Linked DNA regions of Homo sapiens: regions 2, 3, 4 and 5 are each linked to region 1. The links are contacts of gene promoters, found by promoter capture Hi-C in blood cells and fetal thymus (Javierre and others, 2016). All regions are on one chromosome and are shown on one strand. The core of a region is centred on a gene start or on the middle of the fragment in contact, and the rest is flanking DNA. Distances in the headings are between cores, read along the strand shown.

Region 1 (5,278 bases), core at 1,114-3,613:
TCAGGAAATCAATGTGTATTTTGGAAGTAAACTGGAATTATTAGACTTTTATCAAGTTTTAAACACAAATCATCAAGTTGATAGGGAGCACAAAATATTGACAATAAAACCAATATTTCCTTATATATTTTATTTTCTCAATTTTTTCCTTCATATTCTGAATATATTGGTTAATTTTCATAAATTAATTTTCTTGAATAAATGAGATATTATAAAGTATGGTTAGAATCCTTTGAGAATACCAATATACAAACTAGTGATTAAAGACATGCCTTTCTTCATAAAGTAAAATAAATTATTTTAAAATAGAGAAAAATCTTTAATTTTTAAAAATCTGTATACATTTTTATTTTATAATTAATAGCTCAAAAGAACTAAAGTCATTTTGCAATATAATGATTACATATAATGCATTACTGTGCATTCCAAAATTAAGCAAATTATCATTAAACATATTTAATACTCAAGTGTTCCCATTAAAGTCAGTGTTTCTATAATAGTTCCTTAGACAATTAGATGTATATGATTCAAATTTCATTAAAAAATTATAAATCAATGCTATTATCATTTAAAACATTTGTAGGTCACTTTTATTAATTATAATTCTTTTTTAATTTTAAGGCTTAAATAATTTTTGCTTTTCAGATTTTAGGAAGTTAAATACAGGATAGGCTAATTTACTAAATAAATTGTTACTTATTTTAAAGTAAATAAATGGCATTTTGAGTATAAAATTAGATTTTACTAGATTATTACCTCGATTCTGAATTGTATTTTCATGCTGGCCAAATTATCTTCAAACACAGAAATAGTGTATTATTCTCATTATTCTCAATCTATAGGATGACCTACTATTTAAAATATGTGATTAGCTATGTGGTAATTGCTTAGATTTATTTATAGCATATATTTTTGATAAAAACTATTGTGTCTTCCAAAAATTATGTTGGAGGATACTTCCTGTATTACCCTTTAAATTAAATTACAGAAATCTTTGGCGGATTCCTGAAATTTAATTTAAAAGGTAATATTGAAAAATCTCTACATTAAATGATTTTACCAAAGTCTAAATATCTGACCTCTAGATTCTTTAAAATCCACCAGAAGATTGGTGCCAAACTTACGCATGTATTTAGAAAATGCTTAATAATAACAAAAGATAGAGCTTAAATCCTTCAAATCAGAATAATGTATCAACTCAAACTTTGATTTCTAAATGTATATAATTTCATTCCTAAATATGAGAAAAATTGCATTTAAAACAAGTGGAAAGTGAATATTATATTGCTATTCAATGGAAGAAATTTACCCAATTCAAGTCTTTCTCCATTTGTAAATCAACTCTAAAACACTTTGTTACTGCATAAAGAATGAACACACTGGCAAAACATATGTATTTGGCTGATTGTGTTGAGCCTGTGAATTCTTAGGTTTAATTTTTGTTCTAAAAAGTTATGTGAGATAAATGTTAAAACTTAGAAGTGAAGTAAGTCTCTTCAGAATGCAATTTTGAGAAAATTTACCTTAGTTAATGGGCTTTAAATGTCATGTTATTTCTTGCTATAATTTCTGTATCTTATGCTAAAATATGTTAATTAAAACTCTATTTTATTCTATGAAATCCATTGTTGTTGATATTCAGATTGTTCTGTTGTGTTTAATATAAGGTTTATAGCTGTTTTTAGATAGTAAATGTAATTTAACAACCGAATAAACCTTTAAGATAAAGAAGTAGCACCTTTTAAATATTGTTATTTTATAATATTCATTTCATTTGCTCCTTATTCTATAAATATTTCCATTAAAAAGGTTTTTAGATTTAAAATGTCCAAGTTCATTCTTTTCTTATGTAGAAAACAGATTTTCTTCCTTACAACAAAGCCAACAGTGATTTTAAATTACTACACTTACTAATATTTCTTTAAAATTTATTTGGCATGTTGGCTTTTTAGATATGCTTAATGCTTACTTCACTTAAGACAAATTAAATTGGAGGGGTAAAATGAAAGATGCAAAGAGATTATTAACTATCAAGATTCAAAGCATTCATTCTGAAATATTTAGGCCCGGTCATATGTAAACTGTCATAGGAGTCAGTACCTGTAGACATCACATTGGTGGCATGGTTGGAGACTGGTAGACACTCGGCAGCACTGTGATGCATTATCAGAGGCAGAGTTGCAGAGGCGTCAGAATTCAGAGGTATAAAGGTATCAGCCGAAGTAAAAGCTTGGCAACTCATTCCCACAAGAGAGTAGAAAAATAAGGAGAACCGCTGCTCCCCAAATCAGAGTTTTATTATATTACTGTCTCAAAGGGCCGATTCAATTCTCACTACCTGCATATATACATCAGGAAGGCTCTGAGGCACCAGGAGGGTGCGCGCTAGTATTTATACTGCAAGGAAATCCCTTTATACATGTTAATAGTCTTTTCCCAGGAGTATTGCTTTATCAATCTGAACCGTCTTCCTTTTTTACCCCAAACATAATCCATGGCAGAGAAGGAAGCTGATTCTGGGGTATAGATGGAGGGGAAGGGAGAAATCTGAAACCTTATTTGACAACTTCAGTAGTTCAGACCTTTTAGAGAGGAATCAACAATTTTGAAAACACGTCCCTCAAAAAAATAATGCCACAATCAATTGAAAAATAGTAGGTATCTTTTTGCTACTAACACAATTGCAAATGTATAAATATGAGATTTTTTTAAACAACTTCTCATTAAATCTGCGATAAAACATGAAACAAAAGAAGTGCATAGTATTATACATAATTTTAAGAAACAATATTTAAGATTATGAGAGAAGCATATAATACTAAACATGAGAAAATATGTTGTCAATTAATGATTCATACTCAAAAATGCACAGCTTTTAAAAACGATGACAACCAATATAAGTTTTACTATATTATAAGTGAAAAATGGAAAAAAATTGGATAAAATGTAGTAATGATAGGTTGGTGCAAAAGTGATTGCATTAATGGCAAGAACCGCAACCACTACTGCACCAAAGTTAAATACAACTAAGATATGGGTAATTGTTATCTTTACCTCGATTTCAATTCACTCAAGAACCCAATATTTAGTAAGCTGTTACTAGATGCTGACAGTATTCTAGGTATTTATACAGTTACGTCATGCAAATCTCACAACATCTATGTGAGTTATGTACCTTGCCATTCTCACTAAGCTAGACTCTGTGCCACAAAGCCTGAGATAACCATGGTAGTTGCTAACTAGATGCAAACTTCTCACACAAAATATATTGACTTTATATGAGAATGAAAAAAATAATATGCTACAGCCAACTATTTCAAAGATAAATAACAGCATCAAAACTTTACAATGATCATGATTTATGAGTATGTAATGAGTAAATAAAATACTATTTATGTATTGTATATTAAGGTAATATAGCAAATAGAAGTAAGCGAACAGGAATAGATATTATTGATGTGAGTAGACACTAATTTTGTACTACGGAATGTTTTAAGATAATTTGGAATTGGTTGCTTTGTATCAAATTTCATGTTAATATTGATAAGACATTTTCAAAAACTTGAACACTTTGTCAGTAAGCAGCTGATATTTTGAAGGAAAATATGTAAAAGCTTGCCTAAATCATTAGATATGGAATGAAAATATTTATTCTAAAAATGACATATTTTTTCATTCTGAATTCTATATCTTTGAAGCTTTATTAGTCTTTTCTAATGAGAGAAAGTTTCAAGTAATCAAAAGCATTATTATACCCTTGCAGAATTCTGATCATTTTCAGACTTCACATATACAAAAAGGTGATTTTCAGTATGTCTATTTGGAGTTTCTGTTAAGAAAATTAAATAAAAGTGTGTTTATTGGGTATCATGTATGTTAAAAATTAAGCTAAATGATATTTATAGAAAATGTAATTTGAAAATGTCCCTTAATAATTTTACTATTGTTATATAAAGTCATTGGAATATGTTGGTAAAGTATGTGAAAAATATACTTTATGAAGTATACTGAAGATACTTTATGAAGTACCATAAAACCTGCCTAGCAAACAATATAAAATTTTCCCAGTTATTTACCATGATATCTAAAAAGTTTTAAATTGCAATCGTAGAATTTCTTCCATAATCATTTTTAAAAATTAAACACCTGTTCTGTTAAAATGAGGTAAAGCCAGGAAATAAATGTTTCCATTACAGTCTTCTACGATACAATATATCTATAGGATTATCTGGAATGTACCCCTTTAAGATAGATTCTTAGAAGTAGAATTACTAAGCTTAAGTCTTACAAACTTTTAACATCTTGAAAACATTACTAACTTGCATTTTCAAATAATTAATTATATTATGATTTTGATGTAAAATATCAGGAGTAAGTCAAGCAAAAAGAATTGTTTATTATCAGGAGACACAGGAGTTTCTTGGCACTCACAGAAAAGAAGGAAGTCAGGCCATAGAGACAGACTGAATAGAAAATGAGGGCACACCTCTCTGACTCTCCTACCTGCTTTTTTTTTTTTTTTTTGTCTCAAACTTTTTTCCTTCTCTATAGAACAGCCTAGGCTGATTCTCCATCCATGTTCACCTCAAAAATCTCTAGATCATGCCTTAAACTTTCAAGGAGGCAAACAGACTATCTTGTAGCTTCTCAGTCGACATTTATGATAATTTTTTTTTTTTTTTTGGGGAGTCTCACTCTGTCACCCAGGCTGGAGTGCAATGGCGTGATCTTGGCTCACTGCAAACTCTGCCTCCCATGTTCAAGAGATTCTTCTGCCTCAGCCTTCCAAGTAGCTGGGATTACAGGCGCTTGCCACCATACCTGGCTAATTTTTGTATTTTTTGTACAGATGGGATTTCACCATGTTGGCCAGGCTGGTCTCGAACTCCTGACCTCAAAAGATCCACCCGCCTCGGCCTCCCAAAGTGCTAGGATTACAGATGTGAGCCATGCGCTGGGCCGAGAGAAATACTCTTATTGGCTATAACTTTTTGGTAAGTTCCAGAAGTATAAAGATGGTTCCCAGTGGTCCACACTTATGAATGGGTAGGATAGTCCTGGATACATTCAGATGTTTGTAGACAAGGAGGGATAGAACATTGTCTTGGAAGACACCCTTAAAATATGACTGATGCTCTTATACCATCTTACACTAGCATTAGTGGTGTAAAATCCACAATTGTCTGGCATTCTCATTGTTAGTAATAATGTGTAAATATATATGCCTTATTAATCTGATAGGATAATATTTTAATATTTTAATCTGCATTTTTGATTG
Region 2 (5,478 bases), core at 2,117-4,616, 760 kb after region 1:
GCTTCAGGGAACATTTTCTGGACCCTGGGACACAAAGCCAGGGAATATCGTGCACATGGGGCTGCCTGGAGTTTGCAACAGCCAGTTACTGTGCAGACAGTGTTCTTTCTTTCTGGAAGCTTTTATAAATTTATTTGAGTCCTAATAGTTCTGAAATTTCACAAATAATTGTCTAAGGCAAAAGTTTCTTTTGTTTGTTTTTGTCTTAACATTTAGAGCTCTCTGAAATCTCAATACTTGTGGTTTAGGGGATTATGGGAAATTTTTCTCAGTTACATATTTGTTTATCTATCCCCCTCATTTCCCCCCTTTTTTTTTTTTTTGTCTTCTTGGTACTACTAACTGATAGCGTTATGTATGGAGAGTTGTTCCTTCTTTTTTTTTTACTTTTTTTTTCTTATGGTAGCCATCTCTTTGCCATTTGCTCTATAGTTTGGGGGAGTTCTGTAACTTTATTTTCCAAATCTTCCACTGGTATTGACTGTTTCTTAAATTTTACTTTTTTTAATTTGTAAGAACTATGTTTTCCTCTGATTGCCACCTTGTCATTGCTGTCTGTTCTTATTTTGTGGATATTTTATCCTACTCTATGACACCTTCTCTGAAGATAGTCAATTCAGTTTTTAAATGTTCTCTTATGGTTACTTGGATCATCTAATTGCCCATGTTAGTGAATGCCTTTGGTTTTGTCAAACATGTGGTAAACTATTTGACTGATGCTCTAAGTTGATGAGTGAAGGTTCTGTTATGGATTGAATTGTGTCACCCAAAAAGATACTTTGAAATCCTAGACCCCATCCCAGAGAAAGTGACTTTATTTGGAAATACAGTCTTTGCAGATGTAATCAAGTTAAGATGAGGTCATTAGGGTGGCCCTAATTCTATATGACTGGGGTCCCCTATAAAAAGGGAGATTTAGGTCCACATACAGAGGGAGAATGCCACGTGCCAACAGAGGCTGAGATTGAATTCCTGCAACTAGAAACCAAGGAACATCAAAGATTGCCCACAAACCACCAGAAGCTAGGAAGAGGCAAGGAAGGATTCTGCCCTACAGGCTTCAGAGAAGAATGACCCTGCTGCACCTTGATTTCAAACTTATAATCTTTAGAACAGTGGGAAAATATAATTGTGTTGCTTTAAGCCACCTAGTTTGTAGTGCCCTGTTACAGTAGCCCTGGGAAGCTGATACAAGTGGATTTCCTGGGTTTCATTTGCAGCTGTGTGAGTCCTTTTCCTCCCAATCTTCTCCCCTGAATAGAAGAACTTTGTAAGTGAGGCAGTACTCAAAAGTCTACATAGGTGAAGAGCAAACAAACCAAAACAAACAAACAAACAAACAAAAAAAACAAGGCTATGCCTCCCCATCCTCCAGAAGGAAGGCTTTACTTGAGTGATGCATGAGTCAGGGTTTTATTCAGGGCTCACTCGCATTAGGGAGGGCAATCTTCTTTTCTCAGTCCACCAATTCAAGTGTGAATTTCATCCTAAAACACCTGCATAGACACACCCAGAATAAAGTTTGACCAAATAGCTGGCCACCCCATGACCTACTCAATTCACACATAAAACTATCATAAACCTACCCCTTGTCAACTTGGTACCCATATACGTGTCCTTAAACCATACTCAATCTCAAAAAAGACAACAAGGTCGTATTTCCTCCTATCATAATAAAACTATTCTGTGTACAACCAGAAACACACTAACATTTTAGAAGAGGAGATAAAGTCCTGAAATGATGTTAACTCTTCTCCCTGATGTCCTGTAACTTACATACAATGATGTAAAGTCAACACATCTTATTTTACATGATGAGGGGGGATGAGGGAAGAAAACAAAAATATTTGCTTTATCCATCTATCTACACACACACACACACACACACACACACATTTGTAACAAAATAAGGAGAAAATATTCATTACAATTATAGTCCTCATTTTGCATTTCTGTAACTGGCCATTTGGCTATAGCTGGTATTTTTGACTACCTTCTTTCACTACTTAATCTGTATTCCCTTTGCCTTCAGCAAAAACTTAAGCAGCCATAATTCTTTACATAGTGGGTAGCCCAAGTTTTCCTTCCTGAAAAGTCTGAGCTATTAATAGCCCTGCCTGAATTGGATCGTTGCAGTTTTACATTGGCCTTAATCACAGAGCATAGCAGTAATAACAGACACCCTAAGGGACCTCTTGTAGACTAGACATACTCATCCTTACCACCATTGTTGTGTAATGGTTCTATTCCCCTTGGTAGTCAGGATCAGTCACCCCCATCAGAACACTAACTCCCTTCTTTGCCTGGTGATTCATAGGCATGAGGAGCCCAAAGGGCCCAAGAGGCAGTCTTAACTTCCAGTTAAATGGACTCACTGTGTCTCGTGGTGGAAGCATTCCTTTCTTTGGAACTAAGACTTCTAGACCAGCAGAAGATAAGGCTGAGGAATCAGGAAGCAAAAATTTTGCTAGTGGGTCATTAGGGGTACCAGTGAATGGTGCTTCTCCCATTTTCAGCCCTTGATTCTGGGACTCATGAATCCTGGCCATGGGAGAAACAGCACCATGTATTGAATGCTGATCCAAAGCATACAAAGCCTTCTGAAGAGCCTTGTCCTAGCCTTGAAAGATAATGCCACCTAGCTGGTTCTGGAACTCTGTCTTTAGAAGGTCATTTCACCACTCTGTTAAGACAGCTTCTTGCAGATGATGAAAAATATGGTAATACTAGGGAATGCATGAGCATGCGCCAATTGCCGTACTTTATTTGCTGTAAGTTGAGTTCTTTGATGAAAACAAATGCTGTATAGAATACTATTATGGTGTATAAGACATGCTGTAAGTTCACAGATGATAGATTGGGTAGAAACAGTGTGTGCAGGGAAGGCAAATCCATATCAAGAGTGTCTATTCTGGTAAGAACAAGATGTTGCCCCTTCTATGATGGAAGAGGTCCAATGTAACCTGCCACTAGACAGCTGGGTGACCACCCCAGGCAATTGTGCCTGTTAGTGTTAGTCTCTGCCACTGGCAGACTGCGAACTCAGTGGTGGCTATAGCCACGTTGGCCTTGGTTGGTGGGATTTTATGCTACTGAACCCATACATAACCTCCATCCTGCTGAAACAGGAGAGTTCCCTGAACCCCTCATGGGACGTGCGACCAAGGTGTGGTTCATTTGTTCGGCCACCATGCACTCAAACCCCTTATGGGAGGAGGAGCATGCAGGTGAGCAGGTGCAGAGGCCAGGGCAAGTGTTTTTGGGATCCAGCCTCACAGCAGTGTTTAGGGGTGTTACAGTGGTCTTTTAGCCCTGCCATTGGGGACAGTTTAAGTGTTAAACAGCTCAGTAAAAAGGCAGTGTGACAGCCTTTTTGGGTTCCCACACCCAATACATCCCAAATTCTTGTCTTGCATCCAGAAAGAATCAGATCACTTGGACTTGAAGGATGGTAAATGTGGGGATTTTATTGAGTGATGGAGGTGGGGAACTGGAGAGGGAATGGAGTGGGAAGATGATCTTCCCTTGGAGTTTGGCCGTCCCCTGGCCAATCCCCTCTCCAACTGCCCCCAGCCGAACTCCTCTTGATGTTCAGATGCTTTCTCTCTTCTCTACTTCTCTGCCACACCACTCTGCTGCTTTCTGCTCATGGATCCTGGGGTTTGGGGTTTATATGGACAGAGGATAGGGGGCTGTGGTGGGCCAAAGGCAATGTCTGGGGCAAAAACAGGAATGCCTGTTCTTATTTAGGGCCACAGGTCTAGGCTTGAGGGTGGGGCCCTTGCCAGGGACCCTGCCCTCCTCCCACCTGCCTGTATCACTGCCACCATGGCCGCTTTTTTCATGAGCCCACTGGACAATGACAGGGATGGTTGGGGAGAGGCTGATTAGTATCCACAGAACAGGCCATCCTGTCTACTTAACTCCTAAAATCCTCCTCTGCTGAGGTCGCATGTTGGTGAACATTCCCATGGGATACAAATATCTCCACGTTTTTTGCCTATTTAAAGTGGTCTATCCACATATCCTTTCCTCAGATTTCCTTGTCACCAATTTTCGAATCATGTTCCTTCCAAGTCCCTCACCATTTAGCCAAATCACAGGCCGTAGCCCATGAATCAGCATATAATTGCATGTCTGGCCATTCAAAGTGAAAAACCAGGTGCACTGCTCAACATTCTGCACATTAAGATTTCCCTTCATCTTGGTCCTTCATAGCCTCCAGGAAAGGGCTGTATTGCTGCAGCTGTTCACTTTGGGCTAGTGCCTGCATATTATGCGAAACTATCTGTAAACCATACCTGAATCTTATCTTCCTCCACCAAGTGAATGTAGAGAACTTCCAGTGAGGCCATAGGTGCAGGCTGGGAGAGAGAAGGTAATGTAGCAGGTAGGGAGACCGTGAGCATTTTGACCACTTATTCATGTAAGATACTTATACCTGATTTAAATATTTATCACTTCTATTGGATGATGGAGTGCTACTGTTCACACCTAACTTTATGGCTAAGTAGATCAGATATCACTCCATTCATGATGGGCCACTCAGCTCATACGGTAACTTAGTGGTTGCCCATGGCTAAACAGTCAGCCTCTGCTAAGACTTAATAGCAAGCCAAGAGCTATTTCTCAAAAACAGAGTAGTTACCTGCAAAGGATAGCAGTGCTTTGCTCTAAATCCTAAGGGCCTACACTGTGACTCACCTCTAGGGGCCTGCCAAGGGCTCCAAATGGCTTCCCTATCTGCTGCAGACACTTCCAACACCACTGGATTGCAGGATCATATGGCCCTGGCAAAGAAGTTGCAAGGCAGCCTGGATCTGTGGCAGAACCTCCTTTTGTTCTGAGTCTCAGACAAAACTGGCTGTTTTTCCGATCATTCACTAGATGGGCTGGAGTAACATATCGAAATAAGGAATGTATTGCTTTCAAAATCCAAAGAGGCCCACGAAGCACTGTGGCTTTTTTTTTTTTTTTTTTTGTAGGAGGGGCCATAAGCAACAACTTATCCTCCATCTTAGAAGGAATATCTTGGCATATTCCACACCAATAGACCCTGAGGAATGTCATTGAGGTGGAAGATCACTATTTTTCCCCTATTTTGTTTGTCTTTTGTTTTCTTGACTTTATGGGCCTTCAATTTGTGTCCGATTTATTTCTCTGACATACAAATGTCTTACCAATACATCTAGGGTGGTGGCTACTTCTTGGCCACTAGGTCCAATTAACATACTATCATGGACCAGTGTGATCCCTTATAAAAGGGCAAGACAATAAAATGTCTGTGAACAAAATTATGACATATGGCTGGAGAGCTGAGAGACCCGAGAGGTAGGATCATGAAGATATATTTCTGGCTTTGGCAGCTAAAAGCAAACTGCTTCAAATGGTCTTTATTGACAGGTATGAAGGAAAAAGCACTTTTCAGATCAAGTACCAGGGGATGTGTTCATTTGCTCAAGAAATTAAACCACATCT
Region 3 (5,426 bases), core at 318-2,817, 890 kb after region 1:
GCAAATCTTATGCACATAATTCACATATTTTGCACATTTTAAATGTAAGATGATTTGCATGACAATCCCCTTAAGTTTTTAAGTGTTAGTTTATTGTAGATGCTTATGTACACAGTGAAGACTGTAGGTCAGTTTTAACCTCAGCCAACATGAGGTTAACCGGATGTTCACCTTACTAATGTTCTTTCGTATTAATTTTAATGCTTGTTAAATTTACATTTTATATTTGATACTCATTTTCCCAATTCACAAAATTGGCTTATTGAAAAATGATGAAAATAGTAACAAATATCATTCGTAAAAATGCTCCAATGGAAATAACTTCAGTGTGAATACAGAATGAGAAAATGTATGTGCTTTTGGCCGGGCACGTGGCTCACACCTGTAATCCCAGCACTTGGGGAGGCCTAGGTGAGTGGATCACCTAAGGTCAGGAGTTCAAGATCAGCCTGGCCAATATGGTGAAAACCCATCTCTACTAAAAATACGAAAATTAGTCAGGCATGGTGGCAGTCTCCTGTAGTCCCAGCTATTGGGGAGGCTGAGGCAGGAGAATCTCTTGAACCCGGAGGGCGGAGATTGCAGTGAGCAGAGATTGCGCCACTGCACTCCAGCGTGAGCAACAGAGTGAGACTCTGTCTCGCAAAAAAAAAAAAAAAAAGTATGTGCTTTAGAAGAGATTCTGTGTGTATGATGTTTTCAGACATCAGCTGATACAGATAAGGAAGGATAATGACTATCTGAACTTATTTTTTTTTGGCCTGCATTCCATTCACCATTGGTCAGTACATTGCCTGTCAAATATCTACATGTCACCATCAAAGTTATCACATCATTTTTAAAGTACATTAATTTCTCTGGTAATGCATTTAGTTAGGTAATTACTTCACGTCTCAGTTTAAAATTTGTCATGCAATATTATGGATGAATCCAAAATTACAGAAACATCACCCAGAGTTGTATTCCTTTAAACAAAGTACAAAATAAGACATTGTTGCTGAGAAGCTTGTAAAAAGTGTTAGCAGTAATAACAAATATAATCAGGGGGAACAAATGCTATTGGAAAAGTATTGTTGATAAATTACATAATTCAGTGACAATGTGGAAGAACAATTCCTATGATTTGCCTTCTAGATGGTATTATTCAGACAAAACCACTGCTGTACAGTGTATGAATCATATGATGTGTGTTACATATATCAGTGAGAAGTCCGTAAAAACTTACTCTGTTTATCCCTGGAAACCTTTGAATATAGACAATGAGGCTATGCTGGGAAGTAAGTTTTGATGTGGACTAGAAAGGGTGAATCATGACTTTTAATGCTGGAGCACCAGCTATTTGAGCAGTAGCGAAGGTGATTGTAAATGAAAGGACTATACAAGAAAGCCAATCAACACATCCCTTTCTTAAAACACAGCAGTTAATTATCAACCGTAAACCATTCTAATGGTGATTTAGTGTTGAAGGGGCTAGAAAACACAAATTTTGATCTCTTGAGTCCAGTTTTATAATGCCATATGAAAAACTGGACAGGAAGTTACAAAACTTCTTCCTACAATACTGCCTATATAGAGGAAAAGTATTCACGTGAAATTTTTGAGATAAGGACATAAATTTAAAACATTTCCTTGAGATGGTGTTAATGTTAGTAAAGGGCTTTTCCTTGATTGTAGATACCTTGCGCAAGTGGCCTATCAGCTAATCCAGTGTCTTGAAGAGCCATCACTCCAAGTCTTACGTGAATTTTAGTGGCAAAGAGATCTGATTATTTTAAGATTACACAACTCTCGTGCAAAGGCTCAGTCTTATAGAGCTTCATTTTTTCCCCCATCGTCTCATTATTTTTGCTTACCACAGAAACATAAGGTATGTGGGGGCTTATTTAAAACTGTATCTAAATACAGCATAAAAACAATATAATAACATGAAAGAATGCTTCCCTGAGTTGAATGCAAAGGACAGATTGGGAACCCATTTAACATCATCTACAGGTAGATTTTTTGGTGACCTGAGTGAAAAGTTTATTTTGAGAGAAAGTATGTAACCAAAAAAAAAAAAAAGGTACATGTGGATCAGTGAAAACAAGAATGTAAACCACATGTTTATTCTTAGAATAGCAGAAGAGTGGCAAGCTTCCTTTTTTGTTTTTTTGTTTGTTGTTGTTGTTTTGAGACGGAGTCTCACTCTTCTGCCCAGGCTGGAGTGAAGGGGCACGATCTCGTCTCACTGCAACCTCCACCCACTGGGTTCAAGTGATTCTCCTGCCTCAGCCTCCCAAGTAGCTGGGATTACAGGCGCCTGCCACCATGCCCAGCTAATTTTTTTTTTTTTTTTTTTGTATTTTTAGTAGAAATTGGGTTTTGCCATGTTGGCCAGGCTGGTCTCAAACTCCTGACCTCAGGTGATCCACTCGCCTCAGCCTCCCAAAGTGCTAGGATTACAGGCATGAGCCACTGCGCCTGGTGCAAACTTCCTTTCTTTATGAATATATTACTGTAATATAGAACAACATTGTAGGAAAAGTAAAGCTGCTCGTTTACCATTTTTATAAAGGTTCAAGCAAGTTGTACACTAAAAGCTTAATGCTGACCTGACTTTATATTTTATATGACTTCTTTAAAAAACAAACAAACAATAATCACCTTTTTACACAAGCAATTGAACTGGAATTGTGTACTTCTGCTTTTTAGAAACCATTCGGCCGGGCGAGGTGGCTCACGCCTGTAATCCCAACACTTTGGGAGGCCGAGGCTGGTGGATCACAAGGTCAGGAGATCTAGACCATCCTGGCTAACATGGTGACACCCTGTTTGTACTAAAAATACAAAAAAAATTAGCCGGGCGTGGTGGCGGGCGCCTGTAGTCCCAGCTACTCGGGAGGCTGAGGCAGGAGAATGGCGTGAACCTGGGAGGCGGAGCTTGCAGTAAGCCAAGATCGCGCCACTGCACTCCAGCCTGGGTGACGGAATGAGACTCCATCTCAAAAAAAAAAAAAAAGAAACCATTCAGTGCCCCATATTTTGTGTCTTTTCATCACTACTGTGCTATGGCAATTTAGTCAGTGATCACTGTCTCCTTTTACTTTCCACCCAAACAAGAATCCGTTTGAAACATTTTCAGTACTGGAATAAAAAAAATTTTTTTAAATATTTTATTTTGTTTACTTTCTATGAATTACAATTGCTAACATTTTTTAAATGCCATGTCATCTGTCAGTGGTCAGTCTTCTAGAAGTGTGTAAAGACATGTTTTTGCACAATATATTTTGGGAGAAGGGGAGATTTTCATCAAATAATGTTTGTATTTTTTGTATTCACTATCATAATTAGTAAATGTATAAATATGTTATATTTCTTCTATACCTAAATTGAGATGGCTTGCTGCAATGTCTTTCTTCATTTTATAGGTTAGTCTTTCTGAGGCTGACACTTTTGAAGCTCTTGGACTTGCACATTAGGGAAAGTCCCAAGAGATGTACACAAATACCTTTAAAATAGCCTTCTGGACTCGATTGTTAGATTTCGCAGAGTAATGGTGAAGTTAAAGAGATTAACATGTTTTTCCATTAAATGTATTTTTCTTTTTATAAGTTCATATTTAAGAGCATTCAGAGTGTTTTCAGAAAATTCTGTATAGTGCAAATTTTAATAATAACTATGACTGTTTAAAAAATTACTATTTGTAGCTGGGTGTGGTGGCTCACACCTGTAATCCCAGCACTTTGGGAGGCTGGGGGGTGGGGGGGGGGTGGATCATGAGGTCAGGAGTTCGAGACCAGCCTGGCCAACATGGTGAAACCCCGTCTCTACTAAAGATACAAAAAATTATCTGGCATGGTGGCAGGCGCCTGTAATCCCAGCTACTCGGGAGGCTGAGGCAGGAGAATTGCTTGAACCCGGGAGGTGGAGGTTGCAATGAGCTGAGATCGCGCCAGTGAACTCCAGCCTGGGTGACTGGGCGAGACTCAGTCTCAAAAAAAAAAAAAAAATTACTATTTGCAGATGTGAGAATGTACGTATATATATACACATGTACACACGCATACACACACACATATATATTTTGAATTTTGTGCTATGTGCATATATTATCTGGTCAGAACAGATACAGGTATAAACAAATAATGAAGGCAGTTGTTAGTGTATAATCAACCTTACCCAATGAGAGGTCTGACCTTTGCCCCTAGCTCTAGGCTCTTGTAATGTTCTGCAACATAAGAGTGTCACTCCTCAGGGCTTTGGCTGTGGGACAGTCTAACAATGTGATTTATGATAGGTTTTGGGCTGTGCCATATCAATTTTTACCTACCTCCAGAGGAACTTGAGTTCAAAGCTATTAGCCCAACTTCTGGGAGGAACTGTAGACTAAAGTTCAGCCACACAAACAATAAATAGGTGATCAAGCCCTAATAAAAACTCTGAACACCAAAGGCTGGGATAAGTATTGTCCCACATTGTGACTGGAAAGAGATAAAGCCATCTATGACTCCATGGGAGAGGGACTGGAAGCTCCACATTGGACCCCTGCTAGACTCTGTCCTATATTCCTGTGATGCTTAATTTTAGGAGTCAACTTGACTGGATTCAGGGATACCCAGATAGCTGGTGAAGCATTATTTCTCGGTATGTTTGTAAGGGTGTTTCCAGAAGAGACTGGCATTTGAATCAGTGGACTGAGTATGGAAGATCTACCCTGATGTAATGTGGGCAGGCACCATCCAATTGTCTGAGGGCCTGGATAGATCAAAAAGGCAGAAGAAAGGCAATTTGCTCACTTTGTCTCATCTGGAGTTGAGACACCCAGCTTCTCTTGCTCTTGGACATCAGAACTCCAAGTTCTCCAGCCTTTTGGCATCAGGATGTGCACTAGTGCCCCTTGGTTCTCAGGCTTTTTGGATTTGAACCAAGCCATGCTACCAACTTCCCTCATTCTCCAGGTTGGGACTTCTCAGCCTCCATAATCATGTAAGCTAATTCCTCTAACAAATCCTCTGCCATATTTATCTATCATTTATCTATCCTATTGGTGGTCCTGTTTCTCTGAAGAATCCTAATACCAGGAGTGATTCTAGAGGAACAGAACTGTAAGGATGAGCTTCCTAAATTGGTTTTGGGACTTCTGGAATTGGCTCTCTAGTGTGATTATATTTAAAAATGCTAAGGACTCTGTTTCCAATAGTACAGAGAGCACTGGTTGTCCATGGCATGAACTGTTATACAGATATCAAAATATCTGCATTAGATACTCCTAATCAACCACTTATAAGAGGCAGGAAATCAATGACTCTGTATATAATACTTTTGAATGTTTATGAAAAACTGAGTGTATTAGTCTGTGTTGTGTTACTATAAAGGAATACCGGAGGCTGGGTAATTTATAAAGAAAAAGGATTTATTTGGCTTGCAGTTCTGGAGAGCTAGAAAGT
Region 4 (5,012 bases), core at 1,222-3,721, 920 kb after region 1:
AGGATAATTAGACACTCAATAAATATTAACTATCTTAAAGTAAATTAAAACAAAGACCAGGTCCAAAGAATCCCTGAACAAATAAAGCCCAAGTTCTCATAATTGACCTGAACTTTGCCTGCTTTGCAAATGTAAGAGAAACTTAACTTGGGCTATTTATTGTAATTGCTTTTATTAGGAAAAACAAAACTTAAGCTTAACCAACCAGAAGCAGCCAACTAGCTTATGTTACTAGGGACTTTCCAACGGGATAGAACAAATAAGGAAACTTTGTAACTGTAACTCATCAAAAGTTTCTTTAAGTCTATATTCTTTATAAACTTAATAAATCCTTTAAAATCCTTAATAAAGACTTTAAAATCTTGTCTTGAACACTTCTTCAACAGAGCACAACACTTCTTTCAGTTTGGAGCTGCCTGATTCATAAATAACTGTTTGCCAAAATAGACTCTTAATTTTTTTTTTTTTTTTTTTTTTTTGAGACAGATTCTCGCTCTGTCGCCCAGGCTGGAGTGCAGTGGCGCGATCTCGGCTCACTGCAACCTCTGCCTCCCGGATTCAAGTGATTCTCCTGCCTCAGTCTCCCGAGCAGCTGGGACTACAGGCACGCGCCACCACGCCCAGTTAATTTTTGTATTTTTAGTAGAAACCGGGTTTCACCATACTGACCAGGCTGGTCTCGAGCTCCTGACCTCGTGATCCACCCGCCTCGGCCTCCCGAAGTGCTGGGATTACAGGGTTGAGCAACCCCGCCCGCCCGATTCTTTAACATTATTGCACTTCAGTTTACCTTTTAACAGCAATAATAGTATTATTTTAAAAAATTGTATGTATCTGAAGAAAACATAATAAAATAATTACAAAGATAAGCCAAGATTAAATGAAGATATTTGAAAGTATAAAAGTGATAGCATCCAGAACTTTAAAAACCTCTTAAAATATATGTAAGAAAAAGACAACACAATGGAAAAGTTGGTAAAATATAAGAACAAGAGTATATAGAAGAAGAAAGAAGTGACTAATAAGCTCCTTTGACTATATATATAATCTGTAAAGTATAAATTAAAACTACAGTGAGAAACAAGTTGTATCACTCAGATAAACAAAAATTCAGAAGCCAGGAAAATACCAAGTTTTGGTGAAAAAGGGAAGCAATGGGAACAGTTTTCTGATGTTAGAAATGAATACTGAAAGACATCTTACAACTCAGTAATTTATCATCTAGTTATATAAACTCAGAAAAAACTCTGAAATGATGCACAAAGAAATAATTTTAGTGATATTGTTTGTAATAGAAAAAAGCGGAAGTAATTGAAATATCCATCAACAAAGTTTCTCTGTGTAGTTGTGTATAAGAAGTATGAAGAGGAATTTGTGTAGCAAATAAAGAATTTAAATTGTATACTATGACAGTGGAATACTCTCTATTAGTAAAAATAAAAGAGTTAGGATTACATGTATCAGCAAGGTTTAATGTTGAGTTAATCATCTCCCTGCCCCATCCCTCCTAAAATCCTCCTAAGCTGTAAGGTAACATAGATAACATGACATCATTTCAACAAGTTAAAAAAATTATATTTATAATTTTTATTATTTATAAATTTTATTTTTTAAATTTATAAATTAAAAATAATATATTAAAATATATTATTTAGGGTATATATGTAAACAGCAAAATTATAAAGAATTCACATGAATGGAAAATATCAAAATTATGGTCATGTTTACCTCTATGAAAGAGGGAGAGAAATTATTTTGGGGAAGGGTACACTGAGATCCCCAACTATGTTTTAAATTCTTTATTTGTTAGTTATATTCCACTCTGTAAAATATTTCAAAATATGTTTTATTAGTGACTATTAGAGTTGGGTGGTGGATAGGGAGGCCAACTTTGGCTGGAGGGAATCAAGGAAGACAACAGGCTGGTCAAGGAAGCAAAGAGATGAAGCTGCCTTCACGCAGAGATGGGCGTGAAGAGGCACGACATGGTAAAGAGGCACCATGAGCTTCTGCCTTTGAGTAAACTCAAAGAATGTGAGAATGGCCCAGTTCCACTGGAACATGGAGACTGGTAGAGAATAAGCTTTCAGAAAAGCCTTTAAGTATTAGGGTTTTCTGTTTTGTTCATATACAATGGGAAGACATTTAGGGATTTTTAGCATAGAATTACATGAATTGGTTTGTGATTTAAAAATACTTAAATGATATCAAGTAAGTCAAGCCTTGAGATATAACAATGCTGAGTCTGGTATGATGCACACTTAGGGAACTACTACAATATTCCAGGCAAGAGACAATGGAGAGGTAACCATGGCTAGAATGATGGCACCAAAAAGCGGGAAAGAAAAGATGGGAGTGAGAAATAGAAATAGTATTGAGATAAGAACAAGAAAGATCAGGGTGTGGGAAAGACATGAGTGTTAGTCTGTTTTGCAGTGCCATGCAGGAATACCCGAGGCTGGGTACTCTATATATTAAAAAAAGAGTTCTTTGGCTCATAGTTCTACAGCCTATACAGGAAACATAGTGCTGGCATCTGTTTCTGGTGACAGCCTCAGGAAGTTTCCAGTCATAGCTGAAGTCAAAGGGGCAGCGAGTGTATTACTTGGCAAGAGAGAACACAAGAGAGAAAGGAGGGAGGTCCCAGTCTCAAAACAATCAGCTCTCTTGTGAACTAACAGAGTGAGAACTCGTTCATTACCATGGGAAGGCACCAAGCCATTCATGAACAATCCAGTCCCATAACCCAAATATCTCCCACCAGGCCCCACTTTCAACACTGGGGATCTCATTTCAATATGAGATTTGGAGGGGACATACATCCAAACTATAACAGCATATAAGATTCTTAGATAACTCTAAGCTTTTGAGGTGAAATGGTGGAATAGTTACAGTGTTAATAGAAACAAATATCTGGATACACTGGTTTTGAAAAGAAAGATAATGAGTTAAGCTTTAAACATGAGTTTGGTACAATCCCAACAGAGATACTGAGAAAGTAACTGAGAACCATGTATCTGCTCAATGGTGATATTAGAAGTTATATAGTTATAATTCCATCCAAAGGAAAAATGAAGAAAATACTGGTGGGAATAGAACCTTCTGGAATGATTATCTTTAATGATTTGTAGGTCGCTGGTACTTATTGAGAGAGTGGTTTTAACAGAATGTGGTGTGCCGTTAAAAAGTACTCGAGTTCTAGGTATAACTTAGTTTCGAAACAGTATTTCTAAGGCTATTTTAATTAATTGTGACATTTGGTTCCAATTTTTGATTGTTTTTTACTTCCCTTCCTATTTATCACTCTTTCAGAGATTTTTCTCACCTCCTGGGCATTTACCAAACAATTGTTTCCAGAAATAGTCACAGGATGAATGAACTGTATTCAAACAGTCTAGTTTCATTTTTTCCATTGACAGAGGCATCTTCCAAAGTTTCTGGGTTTTAGATACGACTTTGCTACAGTGATTTTAGTGATAATGCCTAATATGTTTATTTATTTTAGCTACGTCCGTTGAATTAATGGAATTAGTTTACTTTTTTCTTTTTAACTAGTCATCAGTCTTTCAAGCACATAATGTAGCTAGTCCCGCAGATACAACAATATCACTTGGTATTTCATGTACTGAAGTCCTTTATCTGGAACATTTATATGATCTAATTCATGTCTTTACAGACATGCTTTCTCCTTAAAGTAGTGCTCTAAAATTGTCGTAATGAATCCTAAATATTTGGCATTTAGTTTAAACATTTTTATTTGCTCAGTTATAGGCCAGGTGCAGTAGCTGACCCCTGTAATCCCAGCACTTAGGGAGGCTGAGGCAGGAGGATCACTTGAGCCCAAGAGTTTGAGACCAGCTTTGTCAACATAGCAAGAACTAGTCTCTACAAAATATTAAAATATTAGCTGGGTGTGGTGGTGTGCATCTGTAGTCCCAGCTACTCAGGAGGCTGAGGTGGGAGGATCGCTTGAGCCTGGGAGGTCAAGGCTGCAGTGAGCTATGATGGCACGACTTTGCCCCAGCTTGGATGACAAAGTGAGACCCTGTCTCAAATAAATAAATAAAATAAAAGATGAAAATATATATTTGCTCAATTACGATGTTCACATGCAGAATAATCATAAAATCTTAAATCTAGAAGAGGCTTTGGAGAAAATTAATGCACATCATTTGACACAGGAGGAATAAGAATCTCAGAAACATTAGGAGACTAGGTAAAAGTCACATGGCATGTTAACACATGGTACATGATTGAATGTTATATAGTTACAAGGACAAACACATAAGTTACTTGCCTATTTCAGTCATTCTAAATACTAGATTTTCATTATGGACATCATATTAGGAACTGATGAGAAATCATCAAGCGATAACATTGTTCTTGTCCTCTAGAACACACATACCTGGGGAAAATCTTTGCTGTGCCATCTGTAGAATCTAACATAGAGACTGGGCATGGTGGCTCACACCTGTAATCCCAGCACTTTGGGAGGCTGAGATGGGTGGATCTCTTGAGGCCAGGAGTTTGAGACCAGTCTGGCCAACATGGTGAAACCATGTCTCTACTAAAAATACAAAAATTAGCCAGGCGTGGTGGAGCACACCTGTAACTCCAGCTACTTGAGACACTGAGGCAGGAGAATTGCTTGAACCCAGGAGGCAGAGGCTGCAGTGAGCCGAGATGGCACCACTATACTCCAGCATGGGTGACAGAGAGACTTTGTCTCAACAACAACAACAACAAGAAAAAGAATCTAACATAGAAAGTTGTCAGTGCTGGATGAAGGAAAAATGATTAAATGATTTTCATCAATGAAATGCCTTTTCTTCATTACATGATAAGATTAGCAACAGAAAAGCCAATCAAGGGATTTTATAGATTAATATATTTGAAATAAAGCAGTTAAACCCATCATCAAGTGCCAGTTGCTGTGAGAGTTCACTTCAAACAAAATAAATTGCTGCCATTTTATTGTCAAAAAGGCATGATAGGAGGATTGGAAAATTCAG
Region 5 (5,212 bases), core at 2,095-4,594, 700 kb after region 1:
CACTGCCTGCCTTATCCAAGTTTAAAAGGTAAGTTTTTCCTCATATTTTAGTTGATAGCCTTGGTTAGTGAGCAAACTGGAAGACCAGATTGCATTTGAGCAGAGCTCCAAATCATGGCCATATAACATCTGCCTTGTGTTGACTGCTGAACATTCTGTAATACCATTAATTGAAGATGACAAATCAACTGCCCAATTTCAACTGACAGCAATTAGCACTCACACTATGTTACTAGACTTCTGCTTTATGTACCAGCCCCACCAAGCCATGAGTGCCCGATAAATGTCAGTATTAATCATTTGTCTTGTTTATGCTACTCAGTTAATCAGCTGGTACTTATTAAGCCTACCTGATGTAAAATGTACTTTAAGTATAAAGCTTAAGAGAATCAAAAGAGAAAAGTAGATTAAAGATTAAAAAAGAGAATGAATACTTTTAATTTAACATATTTACAAAAGAAAGATAGAATACAATGGAAGAGCATACATTATGATCAGGTGAAATACCTTTTGTTCCATTAATTACATTTGTATAAAATATAAGTAACAGTCTAGTTCCTGGTGCTAGTAAAAAACAAAAATAAAAGAGAGGGAAATAAATATGTTGTCCCTGAAATTGCTTAAACTGTGCCAGCTTAGCTTGATTAACTAATTATTATGGATCAAAAAAAAATCTAGCTGGACACCATGGCACACACCTATAATCCCAGTTATTCAGGAGGCTGAGGAGTTCAAGTCAAGTCTGGGCAACATAGCAAGACCCCCATCTCTTAAAAAAAACTGAAGTTGTTAAATCAAATATCATCACTAAAATTAATTTTCTTTTGAACATCACAACAGCTTTCAATAAGTTTTAACACACCCTAAGCATGTTATATTTTTCTAAATAATTTAACATATTTTTATTCATGTTTAAGAAAAATAGCTATTGTCACCCCTGATTTTGAGATAGACCTTGTCCAACCCAATATTTTTCCCTAGATTAAGGTATTTATCAGATAGCTAACTTTACAAACAAAAGTTTTAAAATATTTTTCATATCTTGCACGTAGTTAAATATCAACTTTTTAGTAACTTTCCAGTAAGGGCACAGAATATCCAGATTCTTTGTCTAGTTCCTGGTGATAACCACTTACATAATACATTATTATATCCAATGTCACTATGGTGTGAAGTATTTGCCTTGCTTATTACTCAAGGAGAGGGAAGGGTAGTCAAGGCGGAGGAAAAGATCATGACCATAAACTTTCAAAATTTCCATCTCTAGCTTGCTAACATATTACCTGTTTTTCATTTTAACTTACATAATAGGAGAATATACCATTCCTCATGTATGGTAATTGTACATTATTTCCTCCCACCATCCCCTTACATATTGTAGAATTAGAAAACTTGATATTAGACAGTGATGGTACTATGGATCCCATCAAAGGAAGACTGGGGTAAAAATTGAAATGCTTTTTACCCAGCTAGACTTATTTCATAACTATTATCAACATTAACCACAATCCTAAAGGTAGAGTTGCTAGCCCTATACTCCAGATGACAAATAATAATATTAAGTTTTTTAGAAGCCAGGTACCTAACAGATTTATATGTAATCTTCAACAACCCTTCATAATGTTTGACATTTATTTTTTCCCTCTACAGATAATGAAGCTGAGACTTTTTTTTTTTTTTTTTTTTTTTGAGACGGAGTCTCACTCTGTCGCCCAGGCTGGAGTGCAGTGGCTTGATCTCAGCTCACTGCAAACTCCACCTCCCGGGTCCACGCCATTCTCCTGCCTCAGCCTCCTGAGTAGCTGGGACTACAGGCACCCGCCAGCACGCCCAGCTAATTTTTTTCTTTTTTTTTTTTCTTTTTTTTTGTATTTTTAGTAGAGACAAGGTTCACCTTGTTAGCCAGGATGGTCTCGATCTCCTGACCTCATGATCCGCCCACCTTGGCCTCCCAAAGTGCTGGGATTACAGGCATGAGCCACTGCTCCCCACCAAAGCTGAGTCTTTTAAAGCTGAAATGACTTTCCTGAGCTCACACACACTATTATGTGGGGGAGTCACTTTAAATGAATTTTTCTTGAAATCTAGTGTCACAGGATCCTTAAGGTGTCACTTTTCCAGCCACAAGCCAATGTGGCTAGTGGCACCTTTGCCTTAGTTTTACTCAGACCCACTGGACTTGTTCTTCCCACTCATCCTGGAAGTCTGCACTTAGCTCATGCTACTGGCCCAGATCCCATGCTTGCCAAGGGTGAGCTAGATGCATAGAGGCAAGAGGTATGTGAGTGAGTGAGTGCAGGGTCCAGCCATTGCACACAGCCAGGCAAGCTGGCAGCTGCAGAGGGGCGGGCAGCTCCAGGAGCTGGCATAGGTGCCAGCTTCATGCAAGCCTGCAGCTGGATTAGATGCACCACAAGCAGGTTCCATTGTGGGCACCCACCTCTGGATGAGGGGAACATGGTGGCACTCAGAAGGTTGAAGACTCCAGAAATCGCAGAGACCCCAAAGAGGGTGTCATCTCGAGTGCACCACTCCCTGAGCTCCCAGAAGGGCCGCAGCTCTTCTTTCCTTCTCATCACCCACAACTTGATGAGTCGGGGAGCTGTGTTTCAGTCCTGTTTGTGTTACAGCTCTTTCATTTGACAGGTCCTGAGTTCTTGGAAGTTCAGGAAGAATGATAACTAGAGAGTGAGCAAGGTGAAGGGCTGCTTTATTGAGCAACAGTACAGCTCTCAGTACAGTACAGCTCTCAGTACAGTACAGCAACAGTACAGCTCTCAGGAGACCCAGAGTGGTTAGCTCCCATCCACAGGCAGGTTGTCTGTGGCCCTCAGGGGAGAAGAGACCCAGTACCTCCTATTTGCAGGCAGGTCATCCTGACATTTGTGGAGCCCTCAGCAGAGAGGAGTCCAGGAGTGGATAGCTCCTTTCCCCAGGCAGGTCATCCCAATGTCTCTGTGAGTCTGGCTGAGTCCAGGATTTTTATAGGCTTCAGAAGGGAAGAAGTGAGTGCTGATTGGTTTATGGGTGGGCCTAGAAGGAGAGAGGGAGAGAGGGAAAGAAAGAGAGAGATGGGAAAGACTGAAGGTCCTATTGCTGCACCCTAATGGGCAATCAGGGACTGGAGTGGAAAGAAGGATGGAAGGAAGGGAGGGAGGGAGGGAGGAAGGAAGGAAGGAAGGAAGGAAGGAAGGAAGGAAGGAAGGAAAAGAGAGAGATGGGAAAGACTGAGGGTCCTAGTGCTACACCCTAATGGGCAATCAGGGACTGGAGGGGAAGGAAGGGAGGGAAGGAGGGAGGGAGGGAGGGAGGGGGGGAGGGAGGGAGGGAGGGGGGGGAGGGAGGGAGGGGGGGAGGAAGGAAGGAAGGAAGGAAGGAAGGGAGGAAGGAAGGGAGGGAGGGAGGGAGGGAGGGAGGGAGATGGGAAAGACTGAGGGTCTTAGTGCTACACCCTAATCGGCAGTCAGGGACTGAAGTCAGTCCAGGGGCCTTTGGATAATACCAAGGAGTAGCCTCAGCCAGATACCTTCAGTTGCCCCAGGACCTCCTTCCAATCCACACAACCGCTAGACCTCCATGAAGGGAAACTGGATTGGAACAAAGCCCACATTCCCAACACCAGAGGGTGATGGGGGATTGACAGTGTTCTCCCTGGCAAGCCTGTCCTCTGTGTCCTAAGTCCGGCAGCCACGATAGTCATTTCTAGTTGGCCGACAGAGACCCAGTATTTTCCTTTCATTCTGTTGACTGTGGAGTTTAGGGACTCTGAAAAATGAACAGAAAGCAGCAAATCCACTAGTACTCACCCTTCCACAGATCCTGGATGAGCCCCTAAAAATGTCACAAGATCCTTAGGTTGTCACTTTTCCAGTCAGAAGCCTCTGTGGCCAGTAGCACCTTTGCCTGAATTTTACTCGGCCCACTGGGCTTGTTCTGCCCACTCAGCCTGGCAGGCTGCTCTCAGTTTGGCTGCCAGCCAAGACCCCATGCCTTCCAAGGCATGGAGTGGAGCAGCAAGGGGTGCATGAGCAAGTGAGCATGGGATCCAGTTACTGCACATAGCCAGGCGCGCTGGCTGCTGTGGCAGGTCAGGCAGCCCCAGGTGCCACCTCTGTGCAACCCTGCAGCTGAATCAGATGCTCTGCAAGCAGCTTCTGCTGTGGGCGCCCATATCTAAATGAGGAGAATGCAGTAGCACCTGGAAGCATGAAGATGCCAGGAACTGCAGAGCCCCGAAGAGAGTGCCTCAGCCCTGGTTCAGGGAGCCCTTACATCTGTGTTCCTGGAAAGGCCACAACTCTTCTCTCCTCATTGCCCACACTGTGGCAAGCAGCAGGGTGTGTTTCAGCCCTGTTTGTGTTACAGCTCTTTCAGTTCTGCCATTCAGTGGGTCCCAAATTCTTGTCCTGCTTCAAGGAAGAGTGAGGTACATGGACAACTGGAGAGTGAACAAGGCAAAGGAATGCTTTATTGAGCAATATTACAGCTCTCAGGCTACCTGGAGTGGGTAGCTCCTATCTGCAGGCAGTCATCCTGATGACATCTCTCCACCCCTCAGCAGAGCGGAGACCTGGAGTGGGTAGCTTCTACCTGTAGTCAGGTCATCCCAACATCTGTGCAGCCCTCAGTGGAGAGGAGACCCAGAGTGGGTAGCTCCTATCCATGGGCAGGTCATCTTGTCATCTTTCCAAATCTGGCTAAGTCCAGGGTTTTTATGGGCTTCAGAAGGGAGGAAGTGCATGCTGACTGGTCCATGAGCAGCCATGGGTGGGCCTGGAAAAAGCACCATAAGTTTTCATGCCTGGCTATGGAACAGGCAGCCCAGGCTCCAGGCTTCAGACCATCCCTGGCTTGAACATGGGGTTTCACTGGGGGCTTGCTCCTTTCCACCCAGGAGCCTGTCTGCCTCCTGCCACCATCAATTACATCATCCATGGTGCTCAGGCTGTACTGAGGGGCATCTGCAGGCCTGCACCTAGCTGCCCTCAGTCCCCCCTCGGCCTCTCTCCCATTCTTGTCAGTGCCCAAAGTCCAGAGGATGCCAAGGCGGCAGGGGGCTGTCATATCATCACTGCTTCAAGCACACACACAACACTCGGGCTCGGCTTCAACTTTGCTCCTAAATGAGAGTGGGTGCTGGGAGTGGGGAGAGATCAGGCAGCAAGAGTAGGCACTTCTGAACCTGCAGGGGCAGGGAGGGTTCCCATGACCC

What was found. The method cuts DNA at HindIII sites, captures the fragments that hold promoters and counts their contacts. A CHiCAGO score of 5 or more calls a contact.
Region 2: a fragment that was not itself captured here is called in contact with the fragment with the promoter of POU1F1 in region 1 in 4 of 17 cell types (monocytes, naive B cells, total B cells and 1 more); the score reaches 7.5 in monocytes.
Region 3: a contact is called between a fragment that was not itself captured here and the fragment with the promoter of POU1F1 in region 1, in 5 of 17 cell types (non-activated CD4 T cells, M0 macrophages, monocytes and 2 more). The highest score is 7.2, in non-activated CD4 T cells.
Region 4: a fragment that was not itself captured here is called in contact with the fragment with the promoter of POU1F1 in region 1 in 4 of 17 cell types (non-activated CD4 T cells, fetal thymus, total CD8 T cells and 1 more); the score reaches 8.0 in non-activated CD4 T cells.
Region 5: a contact is called between a fragment that was not itself captured here and the fragment with the promoter of POU1F1 in region 1, in 4 of 17 cell types (monocytes, M0 macrophages, total CD8 T cells and 1 more). The highest score is 7.7, in monocytes.

What each region holds. Positions count from the first base shown.
Region 1 is chr3:87,274,221-87,279,498 of GRCh38, forward strand. It overlaps POU1F1 (POU class 1 homeobox 1), which reads right to left and starts at 2,364. Exons shown (of 6, transcript NM_000306.4): 1 at 2,101-2,364. The coding sequence starts at 2,242. The HindIII fragment of the contact is 1,385 bases long and covers 2,228-3,612 here.
Region 2 is chr3:88,036,489-88,041,966 of GRCh38, forward strand. No RefSeq gene overlaps it. Among named protein-coding and RNA genes, the nearest start is that of CGGBP1, 20 kb to the right of the region's middle. The HindIII fragment of the contact is 6,499 bases long and covers 118-5,478 here.
Region 3 is chr3:88,166,680-88,172,105 of GRCh38, forward strand. No RefSeq gene overlaps it. Among named protein-coding and RNA genes, the nearest start is that of C3orf38, 19 kb to the left of the region's middle. The HindIII fragment of the contact is 1,128 bases long and covers 1,004-2,131 here.
Region 4 is chr3:88,198,127-88,203,138 of GRCh38, forward strand. No RefSeq gene overlaps it. Among named protein-coding and RNA genes, the nearest start is that of C3orf38, 51 kb to the left of the region's middle. The HindIII fragment of the contact is 780 bases long and covers 2,082-2,861 here.
Region 5 is chr3:87,975,728-87,980,939 of GRCh38, forward strand. All of the region lies in intron 2 of HTR1F (5-hydroxytryptamine receptor 1F), which reads left to right. Among named protein-coding and RNA genes, the nearest start is that of CGGBP1, 81 kb to the right of the region's middle. The HindIII fragment of the contact is 5,935 bases long and covers 378-5,212 here.